2 separate regions of the Homo sapiens genome follow, and region 1 is linked to region 2. Evidence: promoter capture Hi-C in 16 types of primary human blood cells and fetal thymus (Javierre and others, 2016). All regions are on one chromosome and are shown on one strand. The core of a region is centred on a gene start or on the middle of the fragment in contact, and the rest is flanking DNA. Distances in the headings are between cores, read along the strand shown.

Region 1 (3,152 bases), core at 194-2,693, 2.2 Mb after region 2:
ATCATATACAAAAATTGGGAACATAAATGTCCATCAACTGAAGAGTAGTCACATATTATTCAATAGACTATTACACAGTAATAATACAATACCATGAAATAGCATGGGTGTGTCCCACAAACAATATGCTGAGAATACTACGTGATTCCATTAACATGAAGCTCAAAACAGAGAAAACTAAAAGCAGATAAGAGAAGTTAGAATACAGATGGGAAAACAAGGATATAACTGACTTGGAAGAAGCACAGGAAAATAGGATGATGGAAATGTTCTATGGTTATAATTTGATATATCTGGTGGTTCCACAGGGTAATAAGTATGTAAAAATTCATTGAGCTGTACAATTAAGATTCGTGCTCTTATTGATTTCATATGTATTTTATGCCTCGACAAAAACAAAGAGAAAAATGCAGCTTCTAAACTGGTTGGAACTGTGTTTATTTAGGCCAAAATCCTCTGAGCCACAAATACTGGAAATCCATCTTTTTTCATTCTTTTAGTTACATGACAACTTTAAACAAATGGTACAAGAACAATAATACAAAATGAACGCTAACACTCAGTCCTAAAATACTTGGCTTCTTACTTCCAAGATCGAAGCTACTATTTTAATACAACATTCAAAAAACAACATTAATTACCAGACATGAAGGCCCTGCTCCCGCGAGCCTTGAATGACGGTGAAACGTCACGACATCCCATATCTATCTCAAAAGCACGCTAGAAAATACCTCCAAGTTTAACAAGCCAAGGACTCAGGAAGAGAAGCTTCAGATGTATAATCAAACTATCATACCGCCAATACCATCATCACAAACAGAAGTATCACTGTCGTGCTTCCTGCGTTGCTCAAGGGTAGAGTCATTTTTAAGGTGCATTCTCCGACAACGCCAGAGGCTCCCCATCTCCTCCGCCCCACTGAGCCCTCCACGACAGAGCATCTTTACCGGCGCTCGCTCTGCCATCTACAGATAAAGAGGGGCTGAGGGCAGAACTATTTTAACGCGATGACGAGGTCACCACTGATTAAAAAGTTTATCCACTGAGAGGAGCAGAGATGGTGATGAATAGGTAAAAACAAAACGAAACAAAACAAAACCCAACACTGACAAGCGAACCAATCGTCTCTGGCCGCGCTTTCCCTAAAACCGGTGCCGACTCCGGCAGGCTCATCCCTGAGAGACAGGGCCCCCCGCAGGACCGGTCCGCTAGGCGACCCCACCCGACCACACAGGAGCCCGCAGCCCCGGCGCCCGCACCGCCCGGGCCGGAGCCGGCGGGAGTCGCGGACCGGCGGGCGAGGCCGGGCCAGGTACTCACCGCGCTCGCCCGCTCTGCGCTCCACCGCCTCCTGCGCCGCGGGGACACCCGGGCGGCGCCTCACGCCTTGGGCCCGCCGCCGCCTCAGCCACCCACCCCCGGGCGCGCCGCCGCGCCTGAGAGGCCACTTCCGGCGCGCGCGAGGAAATGAAGCCGCCGCGCGCCCGCGGCCCCGCCCAGGAAGCTCCGCCACTGGCAGCTGGGTACCGATTCATCACCGACGTGTTTAAAGTATCCGTGTGTGTGCCTCCAAAAACCGTTTGTGGAGACAGCAGAGTGCCCGAGGCAGGAAACCGCTCCGGCCTGGAGGCGCCCCTGCCCGGACTCGTGGACTGCAGCGCTGTCCCGCTCGGAAGCCGATCCTGGGAGTCCGAGCGGGGCCGCGGGGCCTGCGTGGCAGCCGAGTCGAGGGCTTCGGGCCGCGGGGCTGTGGAGCGCCCCTTGGCGCTGGGCCGCCGGCAGCCGTGAGCGCATCACTGCATTTCCCTGGAGGAATTCCTCATCTGTTGAATGAGGGAGTTGAGGCGGACACGCTGGGAAATGGCTTCGAGCTCACACACTGATTTTCGTGAGTGGAAAGAGAAGCCCTTTCTTAGGCGTCTTCCATACCACTGCATGTTCCAGGGTCCTCCCTGGGCTCTCTGTCTCCCACGCCACCGCGAGCACGGCCTAAGCGGGCGAGCGAAGGCGCGACGGCGCCGAGAGCCGGCTGTGGTGGGTGCCGGGCGCGTCACCGCGGGCTGGCGGGGGAGGGGACGCTGGGAAGCTCTCCAGAAAGAGGAGCCGCCACCGAGCAAATTCCCATCTGCCACGCACCGCAGAGCCTCGCCCTCCGCCGCCAGCATTTTCTTTCTTTGTTCTCCTAGCCCTACAAACGCTGGGTTTCCTTTCTCATTCGTGGACTTTTTTCCCTGGATCCTTCTTACTGCTCCTACCCTGTGGCCGCACGTCTGGCAGATGCGCGGCGGGCGCTGCCTGAACCCCCGAATCCTCACAAGCCTCTGTGCAGCGGCCACGGCCCTCAGCTAGCGGCGGGGAGACTGAAGCCGCAGGGTCAGGGTTAGTTGCCACATGTTTTAAATTCCTATCCAAACTTCCATTATAATTGTTTTTATTTATTTATTCATCTATTTTTTGAGACAGGGTCCCGCTCTGTCGCCCAGGCTGGAGTGCAGTGGAGCGATCACGGTTCACTGCAGCCTCCCCACCTCCGACTCCAGCGATCCTCTCGCCTCAGCCTCCCGAGTAGCTGGGACCACAGGTGCATGCCACCATGCCCGGCTAATTGTTAATATTTTTTTTGGTAGAGATGGGGCCTCCCTCTGTTGCCTAGGCTGGCCTTGAACTCCTGGGCTCAAGCGATCTTCCAGCTTCGGCCTCCCAAAGTGCTGGCATTACAGGCGTGAGTCACCCCGCCTGGCAAGAATTGTTGTTTTGAAACTAACTGAGGTTCTCCCATCAATGGATTTAAATTGTTACTTTTTAATGATTTTTTTTTAAGTAGCCAAATACTAAATGTATGTAATTTGAATGTGGAGAGAAGATAATGCATGATTCAAATTATGTGGCTGATCATGGGTGATACACTGGGATATAGTTGTAAAATAAGTAGTTCTCCTAGGGAAAATATTAAAGTACAACTGTGTTGGGTTTAATATCAGAAAAATGTAATTAAAAACATTTCCTGCCAATAATTTCCAATCTGATACTTAAACAAAACAAAACAATAAAAGTTTCCCATCTCTTTCGGGCCTTTTAAATTTCTACCAAAAGTAAGTGATGCTGGCTGATTCCCCTGCTATAGCAAGTTGTGAATAAATAGCCTTTGCTGG
Region 2 (3,519 bases), core at 740-3,239:
GGGAAGACAGACCGAGAGAGGGAGATAGTGGACAAAACAGTGCCTTCACTCTTTGTCCGAAGAGCCCGCTATGGCCACGTTATCATGTCCCCTGCAGGAGGAAAGCACACACGGGGTGCCCGTGCTGTGCAGTGTGAGCACACCAATGGCCTGTGCTTCTAGAACCTTATGATGTGTGGAGGAGAATGGGGAGGAGGAAGCACTTACAAAGGGGAAGTAGCCTGTACCCTGTCCTTCTCCCCCAGGTGTGGGGAATCCATGAAATAATGGAAGTAAATGAAGGTGCGTCAGAAATGGCAGAGGGTGCCATCACCCTAAATGGACGACACATTAACTCCAGGGCACCGCAGTCCTCAGGGTCAGTTCCCCGACTGGGGCAACTAAGCAACTGAAGGTTGCTCTTGTACTCAACACCTAACTCTTCTTGAAGGGAGCTCAAGCCAGGATGCTAGTGAACTTGGCTGAGGGCCATGTCGTGCTACAGCGAGGGTATGGGCTCCTGGATAGGAATCGAGCCCATGGAGAGCTTGGAATCCAGAAAAAGAGTAGTTTTTACTTACTTTAGGCTCTGCACACCTAAAACACAAATTTTATCCAAGAGTAATCAGTTGAAACATGAACTTGCCGGTTGTATTTGTCCATTATGAGCAATTTCACAAGGTTTGATCAAATAATAAACTAAATGGTGAGAAGGCAGCTTGGTAAAGTCTAAATCTTTTTGGTCCAGTTAGGAGCTGGGGTGGGGTGGAAGGGAACTGATATTCCCTGCGCACCTGCAGTATGTCTGGGACTATTACCAGTCATTTACGGAGCGCTTCCTCTGTGCCAGGTACTGGATTAGGCACTTCATTAAAGGCTCAGTGAGAACTGCGACCTGCCCATGCTCATGGAAAAGAGTCGTGGGGCTGGAATTCAGGTCCAGATCAGCATTAGGAACTAGCTTCCAAATGCTGAGGGCTCCCTCGCGTCCTCACACCTAGCGTGGAAGTGTTCCCTGGTGTACATTCTGCTGGGAGGGAGTGCAGCCCCTCCATTTAGGAAAAGCCTCTCCTGGCCTGGGTTCTGTTCCTTCCCTTTAATTTCCTCTGGGGACTGTCCTGAGAATGTAAGCTGCCCAGGTGCCGTCTGAGCCACCAGATGGGCCTGGGCTCACCCATGACTCATGGACCAGACTGAAGCCAACCCTCCATTTTCAGCTGGGGAAACTGAGGCCCAGACAGACGGTAGAGTGAGCTGGTGGTCATGTCTGGACAGAACTCAGGCCTCTGGACCCGCTGACGTGCACCCTTCCCCACGGCTCACAGCTGGCTGCTCCGAGGTGCCCTCAGAGTTCTGTGAGCATGACTCATCTGCCTCTCCCTCCCTGTGCGACCTGCAGAAGGAGCCTAAGGAAGAGGTGGCACAAGAAACGCGGCCCAGTGAAGGGGGCTCCGGAGCCTCGGAGCCCAGATCTTGAAGTGGAGGGGAAACCTTGGGCCTTCTCCTCCCAGGGAAGACGCCTTGCAGGCGGCACGCGGGAAGTCTCCGTTTCCGACAGGGGTCGCGGCCGCCGCGAGGGGTCCTGGACGCTTGCCCACCAGGGTACCCACCGGCCACTGGGAGCCCAGGGCACGCCCCACCGCAGTTCTGCCCTCCCTGACAGGGTCCTGGACACCCCCAGTCCTGTCCGGGCCGCCCCGACGGGCCCTCGGCGCCCCCGCCCAGGCCTCTGCCGTCCAAACCGGGTCCCGGACGCACCTCAGCCCGCGCTCCACCCGTGCCCCGCCCGCGCTCACCGCGCCACGCTCGAAGTCGTTGTAGAAGGGCTTGTCCAGCAGGTGCTTCTCGCTGCAGCCCGCCGAGCCCACGAGGCTGAGGTAGATGTAGTCGTCAGTGCCGGCGAACCACTGGCTGCCAGTGGCCACGGTGACCGTGTAGGAGGGCATGGCGCGGGCCGCGGGAGCAGCGAGCGCCGGGAGCCTCGGCGCGGCGGTCCAGGTGTCCGCATCTAGCGCCGCAGCCTCCTCCCACCACTGGTCCCTGGCCCCGGTCCCGGCCCCGCCCCGGTCTGGCTCCAGGCTCCCGGCTGCCCCCGCCCCCGCCCCCGCCCCCGCCCCCGCCCCCGCAGTACTTCTCTCCCACTCTTCACGCGGCGCCGACTGGGCGGGACCTCGCCTCGGGCGGGGCAGGGGCCTCGCTCCTGGGTCTCTCCTCAGCGAGGTGTCTGTTCCTGCAGCCAGGGGACTGGGGCAACCTCGGCTGCCACCCCTCATCCATTCGTTCACTCGTTCTCTCCTGAATTGCTTCCACCCTTTGCCCTGCCTGCCTGCCTCGGCTTCGCCCAAGGCCAGGCTCCTGTAGGCCCTGGGGTGGAGCTGCGGGGACTCCCTACAAATCTAGGCACAGCCTCTGCTCTCCCCAAGTTCTCAGTGCCACTTGCGGTACTTGGAGCAGGGGTGCTCCGGGAGTCTGCAGAGGAAGAGCGACCCATGAGAGAATCAGAAGGGCTTCCTGGAGGAGGCCACCCCAGCGCTGATACTGAGGATGGATTCTGGAGCACAGAGGCTCCTTCAGCGCGGGCTTCTTCACTGGCTGGACCTGCGGCTCCTGGCGGGGGCAGGCGGGCGCCGAGACCGCGCCCAGGCCCAGAGATGGCCAGTGGTCGCGGGAGGCAGGCGGGACGGCACATCTGGACATGCGGGGCTGTCTAGGGGAGGCCAGGGGTCACGGGTCGGCTCTCTGAATCGCGGCGGGCAAATGCCTGGAAGGGTGTGGAGAAGGTTTCGCGCGCTCCTGGGCGGCTTCCCGCGGCTGGGGCCTGACCCCCAGGTTCCCGCCCACTCCTGGCGCCCGCCTCTCCCAGCCCCGCCGGCAGCGCAGGGTCTGACGGGCACACAGTCGCGTGTATTGATCTCGGCTAAGTTTAAACACTAGCTCACCGTGCGTGGGGCGGCGGGGATGTGAAGTCCCCAAAGGCGGCTGCCTACATTCTCACCAACGCTTCATGTCTGTGAAGCAGCAGAGTCCCTGTAGCATCTCCTCATACTGTCTTGGGTTTGTGCACCTGGCAAATGGCTTTGAACATCTTTTCACATGCTTGTTGGATATCTGTATATTTTTGGAGAGATGTATATTCAGATGCTTGACTCTTTGGAAAACTGGGCTATTTATCTTTTTTATCATTGAATTGCATTATTTATATATCCTGGATAGAAGTCTCTAATCGGATACATGACTTACAGACATTTTTATTGCTTCTGCGGGTTGTGTTTTCACTTTCTTGATGATGTTTGAAGCACAAAAGTATTTAACTTTAAGTCCAATTTCTTTTGTCGCTTGTGATTTTGGGGTCCTATCTGAGAAACCACTGCCTACAATAACATCTTAAAGATTTACTCCTAGGTTTTCCTCTAGGATTATTATAGTTTTAGCTTTTCATTTACATCCGTGACCCATTTTGAGTTAGTTTTTATGCATGGAGCGATAGAAGAATTCAAATTCATTGTGTTGCATGTGCATGTCCGGTTGTCCATGCATCAT

Evidence for each region. The method cuts DNA at HindIII sites, captures the fragments that hold promoters and counts their contacts. A CHiCAGO score of 5 or more calls a contact.
Region 1: the fragment with the promoter of CSGALNACT2 here is called in contact with the fragment with the promoter of ALOX5 in region 2 in 1 of 17 cell types (M0 macrophages); the score reaches 5.5 in M0 macrophages.

Annotation. Positions count from the first base shown.
Region 1 is chr10:43,136,736-43,139,887 of GRCh38, reverse strand. CSGALNACT2 (chondroitin sulfate N-acetylgalactosaminyltransferase 2) reads right to left here and starts at 1,443. Exons shown (of 8, transcript NM_018590.5): 1 at 1,321-1,443. It overlaps CSGALNACT2-DT (CSGALNACT2 divergent transcript), which reads left to right and starts at 1,495. Exons shown (of 1, transcript NR_186456.1): 1 at 1,495-3,064. RefSeq lists silencers at 907-976, 1,087-1,586, 1,757-1,816, 1,947-2,146. The HindIII fragment of the contact is 5,511 bases long and covers 771-3,152 here.
Region 2 is chr10:45,372,686-45,376,204 of GRCh38, reverse strand. ALOX5 (arachidonate 5-lipoxygenase) reads right to left here and starts at 1,989. Exons shown (of 14, transcript NM_000698.5): 1 at 1,776-1,989. The coding sequence starts at 1,925. RefSeq lists enhancers at 1,002-1,610, 1,611-2,221. The HindIII fragment of the contact is 7,754 bases long and covers 1-3,519 here.